2 separate regions of the Homo sapiens genome follow, and region 1 is linked to region 2. Evidence: promoter capture Hi-C in human tissues and cell types (Jung and others, 2019). All regions are on one chromosome and are shown on one strand. The core of a region is centred on a gene start or on the middle of the fragment in contact, and the rest is flanking DNA. Distances in the headings are between cores, read along the strand shown. Region 1 overlaps ADGRG6 (adhesion G protein-coupled receptor G6). Region 2 holds the start of AIG1 (androgen induced 1).

What was found. Contacts are between HindIII fragments. The study calls those that stand out against the background at their distance.
Region 1: a contact is called between a fragment that was not itself captured here and the fragment with the promoter of AIG1 in region 2, in 1 of the 25 tissues and cell types used here (mesenchymal stem cells).

What each region holds. Positions count from the first base shown.
Region 1 is chr6:142,394,067-142,401,910 of GRCh38, forward strand. ADGRG6 (adhesion G protein-coupled receptor G6) reads left to right here. Exons shown (of 25, transcript NM_198569.3): 10 at 3,547-3,689; 11 at 6,419-6,530. Among named protein-coding and RNA genes, the nearest start is that of ADGRG6, 96 kb to the left of the region's middle. The HindIII fragment of the contact is 4,789 bases long and covers 188-4,976 here.
Region 2 is chr6:143,058,624-143,066,036 of GRCh38, forward strand. It overlaps AIG1 (androgen induced 1), which reads left to right and starts at 2,266. Exons shown (of 6, transcript NM_016108.4): 1 at 2,266-2,443. The coding sequence starts at 2,303. RefSeq lists enhancers at 1,262-2,200, 2,026-2,155, 2,756-2,805 and silencers at 2,156-2,245, 2,496-2,565. The HindIII fragment of the contact is 7,626 bases long and covers 1-6,638 here.

The DNA of each region.
Region 1 (7,844 bases), core at 1,332-3,831, 660 kb before region 2:
AGCACAGTTATTTCTTTAGCACTGCTGTACACTACTTTTTTCTTGTAGTTAAAACTGTAATGTAACAGACTGGGTAGTAATGTATATCCAATGAAAAATAATTGAGAAATAGGGCATTTAAAATGGATGGATTATTATTTTTAGTATTTCCAGTTTATTTATCATAACCCATTGCCTCTTACTTGAAATTGCAAAGGTACCTTCAAAGAAAATAGCTTTAAATAAAGTGTTTATATATGATAACATCTAATAATATGGATAATAGATGCCTAAATGTTTTCAGCATTTAAAGCTATTAGTTAATTTTCTGAAGTCTCCCTTTTAATATTTATATCAGGATCATGCCTTAATCATGCAGGTAATTTAATGGATATGTCCAGCATATATGACCAGTTGGCATGTAAGGACCAAATGTTCAGAGTACTGTAAAACAAACAAAAAAACCCTAAATTTCCAAATGGAATAAATTTAGTTGTATTTAGGTTATTCAGGTCATGTATTGCATCTCTGTAGATTTTTTTTTTTTTTTTTTTGAGACAGAGTCTCACTTTGTCACCCGGGCTGGAGTGCAGTGGTGTGACCATCACTCACTGCAGCCTTGAACTCCTAGGCTCAAATGATCCTCCTGCCTTAGCCTCCTGAGTAGCTGGGGCTACACACATGTGCTAGCATACCTGGCTAATTTTTAAAATACTATTTTTGTAGAGACTGGGTCTTGCTATGTTGCTCAGGCTCATCTCAAACTCCTGGCCTCAAGTAAACCTCCTGTCTCAGCCCCCCCCAGAGTGCTGGGATTACATGTACAGGCGTGAGATGTCATATCTGGCCTCCATACAATTTTTTAAAAATTTGTTGTGAAGCAAAAGTTTCTATAAGTCTTGCTGGATCTCAATAGACTGAATTAAATCTTATGGATATACAGCCCTGATGACGGAGCTTGCTTCTTTTCAGGTGATATCTTCTTACTATGAAAAGATAAAATTTCATATGAGAATTGACCAGAGAGCTTTTTTTTTCTTTTCAACACTAGAAAAACAAATGTTTTGAAAGTTATATTGAAAGATGTCATTTTTGTATACATAGTAAATGGACTGGATTGAGCCATGTGATTAGGGAAACTTGTTTTTATTTTCTGGTATTATAATTTTTTCTTTATGATATGAAAACACAGTAGTATATTTCAGTACTGTATTCTTGAAGGTGACAGAACTCTTCTCCACTATTTAACCAAATAATTTTTTTCAATCCTTTCTGTTAGGTCATATTGCATCTTCAGTAATGGATCCAGCAGCAATCAGGATCCCTTTGCTGGACACTTTGTGTAGCAACTGGGACAGCCCTGGGTTTGGTAGATATAGCCAATGGTATACCTTCTTCAGGCAGTCAGCGTCCGCTTTTTAGTGTACTTACTGTGGTTCTTCTACTACCTGGTGATACTAAAATCAGCCATCGTTAGTACATGTCAGCACCTCAGAAACTCTTCTTGAAGGACATTTAAATTCATGGGATTTCAGTTTCCTGGTCTTCAAAGCAATGAGTAATTTTACAGAAAATTATAGGGAGAATGAACTGAGACAGTGTATATAGCAAAATCCACATATTTAGGGGCTTTTTGGTATGAACTCTTGCCATTATTTAATATTTATGTTTATAGCCTTTCTTGTCTCTTTTTTCTATTCTCTATGGCTCTTACCCTCATTGGTGAGGCTTTATAGTCTCAGTTTTTGTCAAAACCACAGTCTACTACTTTTACATACATTGTTTTTTAAAAAAACTTTTCCTTTCAATTTGATTGTATCACTTAACACAGACCATAGCTTCAGATAATGCTGTCATACTCTATTGCCTAGACAGACAGGAAACCAAAGCCACAGAGAGGTTTTTTTCAAATAAAGAATGGCTGATGGTAACAACAGATAGAATGTAACTTTGTAGAACCATAAAATAGTTTCAGTTTTCAGGATGAGAGAGGAAAACACACAGATAAGACCTGTGAAAATGTATGGCTATTCCTGACTTGTTGGGTTTGGGTATTCAATATCACCCACAATACTTTGGGCTAATTATGTTCTCAGTATTCAAGACAAGTAAAAGGTCACATTCCCAGCTGTAAGTTCTCACCAACTGGAGTGGCGAAGCTTGTCTTTAAACAATGACTTAATCCAGGGATACTTTTTCATGGGCCATTTTAAAAATTGTTAAGCTATCATAGTCACATCTATGTTCACAGCTATCATTATATTCATTATGTTTGCCTCATCCTGAAATATGGCTTGTATGCGAATGGTAAGCAGTAGATCATTTTAGAGAGAGCTTTTCAGAGTTAATTATGAGAAGAGTAGAGCACCTATTCCTTGAAATTAGCACAGATATTTAGGAAAGAAAACTTGAGCTATTCTTTAATTTCACCTAGCCTTGAATAGCAAATATTTCACATATTCCTTCTTATTTTTTAACACCACAAATAAATTACTACTATAATACTTATTAATATTCATAGTTTCATAAATAAAATGTCACTGCCTCTCCACTAGACATTCCATAACTAGTTTAAAAACAATACTACCACTTTGTCTTTGGCGTGAAGACAGTAACTGATCTCAATAATATAACGTCTTATCTTATTCATTTCTCCTCTGAATATGAAGAAGAAACAATTTTTTTGTGAATCCAGAGCTTTCACATATAAGCAAAAGAAATTCTCCTCTACCTGACAAAATAATGTTACTTACTTTTACCTCAGTGTTAAATTAATAGTTTTGATTTCTGCTTTTGACTATAGCTGTGATTGTAGTGGAACAGAAAATTATATTACTTTAAATTGTAGAACCAAAAGTTTTTAACAGGGCTTTGGGGATACATTTCTTTGCTTCCCATAGAGGTATTTCCTTTTTAAAGACCTTCAAAGTCAACCATTCTATAACCTTCTTAAGTAATATGCTGACCAATCACAGAGTCGATTTTAAGTATTTATTTTGTGAAACTTTTTACCATAAAAAGTATTTGCAAATGCCTCATGGAGATAGAAAATCATTTGTTGCTATTCTGAAGAAATTATATCACATTCATGAATAGTAACACTTTTATAGTGTTAGTAAATATAAATAGTTAATTTCTAATAGTTAGAAATGGTAATTTCAAAAGATAAATGGTCAGTTGAAATCATAGTTTTATTAAAAAAAATTAATTTGGGGCCACAAAGAAAAAATGTAGAATTAACCACAGGAATGCTGTTTTCTTGTGTTTATGCTTTAAATGACTATATAATGTATTACTATAAATATTAAATATTAAAATATTTCTGAAAAGAAATGGAGTTATTTGACAGAATTATACAAGCAATAGCCTATAGAATCTATTAATATTGGAATATTTTTAACATTATAATTTACACAGCAGCAGAGAAAGTCTGTGAGCACCTTGGCTAATCTCTTCAGTCTCAACAGGTGATGGTCATCCCTCTACATCCAAATACTCTGTTTCTCCTACCAAATGACAAGCAACCAATGAACAACAACAACAGTTCTATCCGAAATGTTTCCCTAGGTTGGTGCTTTGGGCCCTTCTAGTTTACAATGCTACCAACAATACTAATTTGGAAGGAAAAATCATTCAGCAGAAGCTCCTAAAAAATAATGAGTCCTTGGATGAAGGCTTGAGGCTACATACAGTGAATGTGAGACAACTGGGTAAGTGACTAATTTTTTTATAATATGCATTTTATACAACTGTATATTCAGGTTTACTTGAAACAACAGCAGAAATTTTCTTTATGCGCTATTTGTTTATGTAAGTTTTTTTTCTGATGGTGAAGTTCAGTAACAAATGAATGACATAGCAGAAAAAAAAAATCAGCTCAGTGTCTGTGAATCCAAGGGAATGAAGGAGGTAGATGAAAGTTTATATTTTACTTTAGGAACATATTTTGAAAATACTAACAATATGAACAAAATGCCAGAATAATCTTGATCATCACTGTTGTCAACTTTAGGGAAAAAAAAGAGTGTGTAGATGTGAATGTGGGAACTCTAATGAGATAAATCTTATAGAAGGAGATTTCCTGTTTTAAAACATCTCCTGCTGGGCATGGTGGCTCATGCCTATAATCCCAGCACTTTGGGAGGCCAAGGTGGAGAATAACTTGAGCCCAGGAATTCGAGACTAGCCTGGGCTACACAGGGAGACTGTCTCTACGAAAGATTAAGAAATTAGTTGGGTGTTGTGCTGTGCACCTGTAATCTCAGTTACTAGGCGGGGCTGAGGCAGGAGGATTACCTGAGCTTGGGAGGTCAAGGCTGCAGTGAGCCATGTTCATGCCACTGCACTCCAGCCTGGGCAGCAGAATGAGACCCTGTCTCAAAAAAACAAACAGAAAACGTCTCCTTCTCTCATGTTCCCTGTCTCTATTAGTGATACCACTGTCTTCACAGGACTAGGTCATGAATGTAGGGATTCTGTTGGACCTAAAATCAAGTTTCTCCTGGAGATCGTTCACATCCTAAGCTCTAGCCACACATATGGCACGGCTTGTACTTCCACAAAGAGGCTGTGCTGCTTCCTTTAGATACCCTTTCTATATCTTTGCACACTGTTCTTCTCCACTCCCACCGGCAACCTCATTATCACCTATGTATTTTTAAAGACAGCTCCTAAGTCAGCTCTTCTTTGGAACCTTTTCTGAAATAAAGTATAGACATCACTGCCTTTGAGCCTCTACTTCATGCTGTCCAGATGCCTAGAGCATCATATGCATCAGAAGACCATAGTACTTAGAAGACTAGATATATTTATGTTCACATATATATATATGTATATATTCTGTAAACAATAATCTCTGACTTAAGATCATATTTTCTTTTTTCTTTAACTCTTACTTCCCACATATTTCCAGAACCCAGCACATTCCCTGGAACTGGAACACTTGTTGAATAGACAAATGAATGAGTCTGCATGAGAATATTTTAGGAAATCAAATGTTCACAAATATGGATAACAAAAAGCAATTGTTTTAATGTTATTCTATGATTGCAATTATACTGTGATTAGGTACATTAGTAGAGATCAAAAGAAAAGAAAACTTTGACCCTTCGCCTTCTCTACACTCAGGAGGTTGAATTGAGGGAGGCAAGTGTTCCTCAGCCTTGAAGAGGGCGATTGCGACCAAGGCCATAATCACAGTCTAGTAAAGAGGCAGGCATCTCCACTTCTGTGAGGAGCCACCCATCTCTATTGGGTGGATGTACACCGTTACAAAGAACTCATAGAGATGGATGAATGCAAATAATAATACTAATCATGGTAATAAACCATTTCTGAGTCTCTATGGGAAAATACTTCTTAACAAATGGGGCTTTTTGGAGGGAGGGAGAATGCAAGCTGCTACCCTTTCACGTATAGGAGTCTTCACAAAGAAGGAGTCTGACAAATGGTAGTTTATCTATGACTGGAGAACCCTAGGAGGACCAGCACTGGCTCTGTCCTCATAGGCTGTGAAAGCCCAGCACCACTCTGTCCATATATTTAGACATTTAATTTATACCATTTAATTTAAATTATCCGTTTTATTGTTTTTCTGCAAATGAATCTGTGGATAAGCGCTTCTACCAATGGAAAAATAAAAGGCTAAAACCTAACAGTTTTAAAGTTCACAGTATACATGGGAAAGTTATTTGAATTTTCAGTTGGTGATGACAGTACTTGTTCCCAGAAAACTGATATAACTCACTAATGCTCAGTACTGAAATACAAGAGTTTATTGTTGTTGTTGACGTATTGCTGTTACTTTGATATCCTTTAAAATGTAGAATCTGAATCATTGATGTCATGAGGCTTACTTAGAGAGTCGTCAAACAAAAAGTCAGATGATGTGAGGATAAAGAAGTCTGAGAGTTTGTTGGTTTGCAGGTGACTTCCTGTGTCCCCCTTAGTTAGCTTCCAGGCAGGAGAGGCTATCAGAGCAGCTGGAACATTTTCTATAAAATAGCCACACAACTCAAAGAAGACACTATTGAGGCATCATTTCTAGGCTTTCCCCTTTGAAAAAAATCAAATTACATTTTGAATTTTTCAGGATTGTTTTCCTTCTCTGTAGGGTTTATTTCTTTGAATAAAACTAGTATCTGCTAATGATTAGAATGATAATGTATGTTTCATGTTTATACTTACATAACTGTGTTTTTTACTTAAGGTTTTGTCCAATGTAATGATTTTTGGATTTGAAGTGTATTAAATGTTAATGTTTTTTCTAACTTCTAATTTTTTTTTTTACAAATTCTGAAGATAAACACTAATATTTTGGTATTACATTAAAGAAATACCTAATTACCAGCATTGTCATTTTGCTTTCATCCTGCATCTCTAATCTCTAACTTTAAAAAATAGGTGAATATTTCTCATGCTGGTTCTTATGTTCATATAGGTCATTGTCTTGCCATGGAGGAACCCAAAGGCTACTACTGGCCATCTATCCAACCTTCTGAATACGTTCTTCCTTGTCCAGACAAGCCTGGCTTTTCTGCTTCTCGGATATGGTAATATTTTCACTGACTCTTGCCAGCAAAGCTACATGTTATCAGCCTTCCCAGGGTTATACGTGCAGCACGGTAGTTCTTAGGCATTATATTGATTGCAAAGAAGGGCAGGAATCTCTGTGTATGCCTGTATCATTCACTCCTGGGGAATAAAGATAACATAAGTGGATGACTCAGAAAGGCAGTGTTTTCCTCCCAGCCACATGCTAATCAAGCCCTTTCACAGAAAAACTGAAGAGTTTAGAAGCCAGTGGGTAGCACCAGAGCAAAGTACCTTGTATGTGGATGAACCTAGCCTACCCTTGGAACATGCGTCTGGAATTCCGAAACTTTTTAACTATTTTGACTGATTATTGCTGGAATGGGGAGAGGAGGCAAAGAGGAAATGAAGACAAGATCCAGATTGGGATAGTCTGCTGATGGAAACTGTCAGGGTGTAGATTTTCTCTAAATGTTTAACAGAAACCTCAGAGACTAGATAATTGCAGGGATTCATGGAATAGCAAGTCAAATCCATTTCTCTACCCACCTCACTCCCAATTAGAGTTTTCCTGGGGGAAATTCAGAAATGGAAACTGCCTAAGCATAAATACTTTGCATACTATAAATATTGCTGGGTTTGACACTTTGTAGGGAGCAAAGAAGGGGACTGTAGAGATGTATGGACTTGAGTTTGAAATGTGGCTCCATCTCTTCCTGGCTGTGAGAACTTGGAAAATTCGTTGATTTACCAAATTCCATTTAATCTTCTATAAGATGTGAATTATAATCTGCTTTGCAGAGTTATGTGAACTCAAAATCAGATTTTACCTGTAAAGTTCTTAAAGCAGTACTTGGCCAATGTATCCTAGGTTAGGATACTGCTGGTATTTTGTTTCCAAGATGCATGCTACTGATTTTTTTCCCATAAGAATTTTTAGCATGAAATTTATTTCAGTGCATTACAGTTTTATTTTCAAAGGAAACTTAACCTAGAAATCAAGGCAAATCCCAAAAGTTATTAACTAATCTTTTCAGTTCTAATATCATTTATAGGAAAACAGGAAAAGAAAACTTGTAGAAGGAAATAGTGCAAATGGAGAAACAAACTGGGGTGAGAGAGGAGAGAATAAGGAAGGGTGAGAAGAATGAGGTGGAGAAATGGAGAGAATTTGGGAACATTGTATAGATAGGGTGATAAACAGAAATAGGCTAGAGAGATAGAACGTAGACATATAAACAGGTACAGAGATAAACAGAGAATTAAAATGGAAAGAGTGAGAAGCTCAGTATCTTAAAGGGAAGCTTGTCCATTGATCATATTGTAATAAATGT
Region 2 (7,413 bases), core at 1,016-3,515:
AGTCCCAGCTACTTGGGAGGCTGAGGCAGGAGAATAGTTGAACCCAGGAGGCAGAGGTTGCAGTGAGCTGAGATCATGCCACTGCACTTCCGCCTGGGTGACAGAGCTAGACTCTGTCTCACAAAAAAACAAAAAGAAAAACAAAACAAAAAACCTGACCATTAAAAATGGCTTTATGAAAATATTATTTCATTTTGTAACAATGGGGTTGGGGAGTCTTAATAATTGTCTAACATGTAAAGTAGGAAGGGTATATCAAACTTTGCAAATATCACATTAACTCATAAAACTTTATTAAGGCTCTATTGAGAGGTGAGGCCAGCTGGACCTCCTGAGACAAGTGGGGACTTGGGGAACTTGCCTGTCTTACAAGAGGAGTGTAAAATGCACCAATCAGCGCTCTGTAAAAAGCACCAATCAGCACTCTGTAAAACACACTAATCAGCACTCTGTAAAACGCACCAATCAGCAAGATTTTAAAAGTAGCCAATCGCAGGGAGGACTGAAAAAAGGGCACTCTCATAGGACAGAAACAGAACACTGGAGAGGACAATAAGGGAATAAAAGCTGGCCACCCCAGCCAGCAGCAGCAACCCGCTCCAGTCCCCTTTCATGCTGTGGAAGCTTTGTCCTTTCACTCTTCACAATAAACCTTGCTATCGCTCACTCTGGGTCTGTGCCATCTTTAAGAGCTGTAACACTTACCACCAAGGTCTGCCGCTTCATTCTTGAAGTCACTGAGACCACTAATCTACCGGCAGGAACCAATTCCAGACACATTATTAAGGTAGGTAGATCTTCAATAGATCTACTCTTTTTTATTTTTATTTTTTTGGCAGTTTATAACCATGTACCAAGGATGCACAATTAAAAAAATAAAGCCAACTTTTACATTAAGATTTAACCAAAAATCATCAATAATACATCGTTTTAATGCTAGTAGAATCTTCTTCTGACATCAGTTCTATTAGCATAATTATAATGCCAATTAAAAAAATCTAGTGGGTCTCTTCATTTTAGTTTAGAGCTTGATTGGAAACATTCAGGAAAACATCCATGGCTTGCTTGCTACTTTCTCTTTACCTCTAGCACTATGCTTCTCCCCACCAGCCCTCCCTCCACATCCTCTGACTCAGAGACTATTTGAAGAGGACACCTGTTTTAAATGGATCCACAGGAAATACCTATGTTGCCTTTTCATAATCCGAACCTGCAACTGGTTGGCTGAAATGAAAATGTTGCCCACAGACTGATGCAACTTCAGTGTGACAACATTTACTGGAAGGCAGGAGGGACTCCAGTTTATATTTATTTTCCTTCCATTAAGCCCTGGTAGTGTAGTGTAAGAAAAAAGTAAGGGCAAAACCAGTTTAACAACCAGATGATTAGTATTAAATTACACGCAGGGGTTTTACATCCAAAATTGGAATTTTTTAAAGCTGAATGCAATCTTGTGGCAGAAAGTTATTTGAAAATCCTTTCTTTATAGCTTTTTATCTATAAACCTCTTGTCCAAAGTTCATATTCTAGCTGATGTTATATACTGATATGACATTATTCAATCTGTCATGGAAAAGTGCTGCGTAGCCTACCCATTGAAAGCAGAATTGAGAGAGTTTCCTAGTGATTGACAGTCGTTTGTCAACACTGAAAACCTTATTGCCCCAAAATACTGAAAGTCACTCGCGGCTGCCTGTGCTCGGGTTTACACCCCACGTTCACACCCCCACCGGATCCCTCCGCACGGGGCACCAGCTCTCGGCCAACTGCAACTACCCCAGGAAGCGTCACCGCGATTCCGGGGCGGGAACATTTGTGGACACTGGGGTCCACTCCTTCAGTCTAGGTTCCCCGCCCCCTCGCCCGGCCCGGCGCCCACTAGCCACAGGGCCCGCTTCCCCCTGGAGATCAGCGCGCACTTCCCGAGCCCTCGTAGCACTCAGAGGTCGCATCCACACCTGGGATGCCTAGGGGGCGCCTCCTGGCCGGGTGTCCCGGGACCCTGCGAACGCAGGAGCAGAATGACGAAGGTGACGAAAGAGATGACGACACGCCGCCTGCCAGGCCGCGGCCGGCAGTGGAGAGCGTCCGCAAACCGCGCCCGGCCAGTACAGGTCACCCGGGCGCTCGCGGCCGCGCCAGTCCCCGGGGGCGCGCGCCCCGCCCCCGCCCCCGCCCCCGCCCCGCCCCGCCCCGCGCCCGCGCCCGCGCCCGGGTTCCCACGGCGCCCGCCCCCGCGCGCCCGGCGCCTCCCTCACGCCCGCCCTCCTTGCCGCCCAGCCGGTCCAGGCCTCTGGCGAACATGGCGCTTGTCCCCTGCCAGGTGCTGCGGATGGCAATCCTGCTGTCTTACTGCTCTATCCTGTGTAACTACAAGGCCATCGAAATGCCCTCACACCAGACCTACGGAGGGAGCTGGAAATTCCTGACGTTCATTGATCTGGTAAGGCCGTCCCCTCCCCCTGCTCGCCCCGCACCCCGTGCCTGTGTGTGCGTGTGTGTGTGTGTGTGTGTGTGTGTGTGTGGATGCGCGAGCACCTGCGCACGTGCGCGCCTCCAGCATCCACCCGTGTCCTCGCCTCTTCCCCAGTGATTGCGTGTGAAGGCCTGGCTGCCCCCGCAGCGGCACCTTCTGAACCACTCACCGTTACCTGGTAGCTGGGTACCCTTACCTGGCAACTGGGGGACAAATGGAGGTGGGGCGCAGCCAGGTGGTGGGCTCTTTGGAGGGGGACACCGAACTGCTTCTAAGAGGTGACACGGGAAGAATCTTCAACAAAAGCATCGGACCTGATCCTGAATGGCCTGAGACCCATTCGCCCTCAAGGTGCTTTTCAGAGCACCCACCGTGGGATGAACTTGTTGCAACTGAAGGAAACTGGGTATTGTCTAGTGATTTGGAACTTCACCTGAAAGAACCAAATCCTTCTCATAAGGGAGAGAAAGCACCTAATAAAGTTGTCTTCTTTGCATCTGTTTTTTTCCCCCATTGTCAATAATTTACTTTCAACCTTTACCCCGTACATATTAGGAGACAGAGATGTTCAAAGTGCATTTCCAAGGTGACTGTACACACTTCTCTGTCTTCCCATGTACAAATTTACAGTAGTTTGCATAAGCAGCTCCTCTGTTGGCACAATATGATAATCTTGACAGGTGCAGGTTATTATTAGTATATCATTTTGAAAGTTTTTCTATTTCTGGCACTAAAAGGCCCTCTTCAACCTCCCTGGAGAACAGAACATGGGCATAAGGCCCAATAATGAACTCATGGATGGACCTAGGAATTTCAGGGTAAAGGTGACTAAGACACACGCTAAAAGATTATTAGGAAGAGGCTTAAAACAAAAGCAATGAAGTTCTAAAGCACTCAGAGAAATTGTAGAACCAATTCCTGGGACTCCCTGAACTGTTTATCCAAGACTATACAGTTGGTTGGCTACACCAGCAAGATTATAATCTCTTGTTGACCCTCCATTCTGATGAAGAGAACATGATACCTGTTTTAAAAATTTCCAAAGGCTTAGGATGCCTCAAAGAAATGCAGAGAGGCTTTTGGTTTAAAAATAACACCTTATATTTGCATTATATTAGATACTTTCAGAGTGGAATTTCAATTCTGTTGCCCAGCAGTCTCCAAACTGTGCACATACCCTTAGGCCCACAAGACTTCACAGGGTATAGAATGTTGCAAGGGTTTTAATTTTCAGATCCTCATCTTCCAACTCTGCTTGAAACTAATTTCCCTCTGAACATGCGTGATGCCTGCCAGTTCTCCTTTCATTCTCCCCATTCATCCAAGTGAGGAGCCCGTGACAAGACTCTGAGGTGTGCTTTTCTGTCTGTTCCTTTTAGCTTCCAGAAGATAGATGGTTGTCACCAGGGCTATCTTTATATTTGATTGAACAACAATGTCGGAGTTGCCTTGACAGAAAGTCTTATTGGGTTGATTGGCTTGTCAATGAGGATTGGCTTTGCCAATTATGTTGTGTAGCAGACATTTTCTGTATACTGAATGAGCTAAATCTGCAACCCTGAGGTTCTGATGCATATGTATATGAAGCAAGCATACCACCCATAGAGCGCCAGAAAGATGTCCCTTTTTCAAGTGTTTACACTTAACTATGTTAAGGATGTTGAGATGTTATTTAAAAATATGTGCATAGATTTTCAGAATTCTTTGAGGGGCTATGTGAGCAAAACTCCTTTTGGGACACTGCCTTATCCCATTCCTAAGTCAGATCTTACTTAGAGCTGGCCTATTTGAATGTTGCTAAAGAGCAGTGCTGGGCAAGAATACAGAGATGCTGTGGGAGCCATAGGTTCTAGAAACAGCCCTCAGCATCACTCTTGCAGTAGATGCTGTGTTGTGGGAGCAAGGCAGGGGTCAGCAGGTGAACAGAGGTAGAAATTGAGGGTGTTGGTTAACCCAAGAGATGCCTGCTTTTCATAATTAGCATTGCTTACTGTGCATTGAAAAACAAGGCTCAGAAGAAATGATATACCTCTCATAACCTTTGTGTGACATGAAACCATAGTAGAGTCAGCTTGATATGCTGTCATATAATTTATCTTTTAGCATTCAATGATTGGACTTGCCTGTTTTAAATACTAATCACCATACAGGACTTTTTCTATCCCAGAAGTCAGACAGTAGATTCAAATGTGAAACATTTACTTTGCTTCATATTTAGCTTCAGATTGTATAGGACCTTTAGCCAGCGTTGTAATTTTTTACTCTGTGGCTCCTGATTGAAACATAATAATTATCTTTAACAAAGAGTGCCTGTGAGAAAGTATGTCTGAGATATATTCATAAAAACATTCATGCAAAGTGTTATTCTTTTTATTATTTGAGATTTAGAATCCTTAGAGCTTAAGCATTGTACAGCTGTTAAAACAACCAACCTGTCAATCCTCAGTAATGGCATGAAATGATTAGGCTACTATAATTTAGCCATTTTACTTTTCACTTTTAATGTTAAAAAGACCGTAAACTTTATTACCTAGTGCCTTGTACAATATTAATGAGTCTAAGTTTATTGGAGTAATTTTGCAAGAGTTTAACTTTTTAAAATTGTAATGTGAAGGCCCTTTTTTCTAGCCAACTTGGATTGCAGGAATCATTTATCCTGATAGCCACAGTTGGATTCCATATTCCATGGCTTCAGTTTACCAGGATCTGAGTCAGGAATCTCAGGCTCTATGCATCCAGGAGCAGATGATTATGTGGCAGTGGCCATTCTGGCTGTATTCATTTCTCTCCTTGGGTATGAGGGTCATTCCAGTAGATTCAGAGCTTATGGTCAAAAACTGAAATACACATTGTTGCTACCAGTAATCTTATACTGTTATTCTCCAATGGTTTCTTTTCCTAGTATTGAGAAACTGTAAGAGAACTAAGGTGTTTTTGGAAAATTGAAGTTAGTAAATGGAAAAAGAACACTGTCTTGGTGTGGTAGGCAGAATAATGGGCCTCCAAAGATGTTTACATTCTCATGCCAGGAACCTGTGAATACATTAGGTTACATGGCAAAGGGAAATTAAAGTTGCAGATGGAATTAAGATTGCAAATCAATTGACCTTAAAATAGGGTAATTATCCTGAGTTATCCCATTGGGCCCAATGTAATTACAAGGGTCCTTAAAAGGAATAGGGAAACAGAAGACAAGAGCTTGTTGGAGGAAGATGTGACTGGAAGAAAGTCAGAGAGAGATACGACAATGCTGGGTTTGAAGATGGAGGATGGAGCCAGGAGACAAGGGGTGTGAGAGGTGTCTAGAAGCTGGAGAGGACAAAAAAATGGTTTTCCTCCTAGAGTTTCCAGGAACACATACCTGCTGACAGCTTAATGGTAGTGTATTTTGGACTTCTGACCTCCAGAATTGTAAAATAATAAATTTGTGTCATTTAAGCCATTCAATTGATAGTAATTGGTTACCACAGTAATAGAAAACTAGTATACTTGGCTTTAAAGCCTCTGACTTAGAAAAAAAACTTAACTCTTTTTGTACTTATATGAAATAAATGCAGTGACTCAGCTAGCCCTTTATGTATAGTAGATAACTGGTTAATTTTAGCTTTAACAAAAATGCAAGTTTTTTCCTACTTCATCCATGAAATTATGTGGAGGAGACATACATATGTGTAACAGTGGGCAATATGAGGATTTGTAAAGACTGGACTGTCAAGCGTGTCTGTGTGAAGAGACCACCAAACAGGCTTTGTGTGAGCAATAAAGCTTTTAATTCACCTGGGTGCAGGCGGACTGAGTCTGAGAAAGGAGTCAGCGAAGGGAGATGGGGAAGGGGTTGCTTTATAGAAGTTGGGTAGCTAATGGAAAATTACAGTAAAAGGTGGTTATTTATTGTTAGCAGAGAAGGGGGTGACAAGGTACATGGTGGGGAGATCATAAGACTTATTGTCCAGAAGAAGAATGTCACAAGGTCGGTTGATCAGTTAAGGTAGGGCAGGGACAAGTCACAACGGTGGAATGTTGTAATGTTGGTTAATCAGTTAAGGCAGGAATTGGCTGTTTTACTTCTTTTGTGGTTTTTCGGTTGCCCCAGACTTCTTGGCTCCTGCAGGCCATCTGGATGTATATGTGTAGGTCACAGGGGTTACAATGGCTGAGCTTCGGCTTAGAGGCCTGACATGGACAACTTTGGAAAAACTAGGTCTTTACTATGAAGTATTTCAGAGACTATCATTAAGTAACATGTCAGGCCAGGAGAAGAAATACACTTAATTGGAAATAAGCTGGAAAGAAAGAAAATTTAAACTAGCTGTTACTCAAATATTAACACTTTCTTAGTCAATATCACAGCTGATGAATTTTCTTCAAGTGATGTGGATTCATTCACTAGCAAAATGATTATGCTGTGTGTTACATGATAATTGCCCCAAAAGATAATAAAGAAGAATTAGGATAAAACCAACATAAATAAATGAAAAGAAAAAGGCAAATGTATTTTGAGGTCTTAAAGTAGTATTTGGGGTATAATAGGTGTTTAGTAAATGTTTAAGTAAATGGAAGCTTTCTCTTCCCAAATTTTCATTGAGTATTCTTTTCTTGTCCTGTCTCCTCCCAAAAACATTCAAAATGATAGGAATTTAAAAATGTATCAACCAGAACATTATTCATATGTATATGGTAGAGTCTAACAGATGAGTCAGAATCAACTTCTTTGAAAACCATGAACTGGATTTTTTAGAAAACTTAAAATATTGATGATGGATGTAAGACATCTTGATTTTTAAAGATTGAAACATATCTGGGAATCCCATTGGCTCTAGTTTGTAGTACTGGCCATTTTGAGAGTCATCCTCTCTTAGGGCCGTATCATACCCATTATTCCTCCTAGACTGGCTTTTCATTCATGTCATGGCAGAATATTGTTCAGGCCCTGCCTA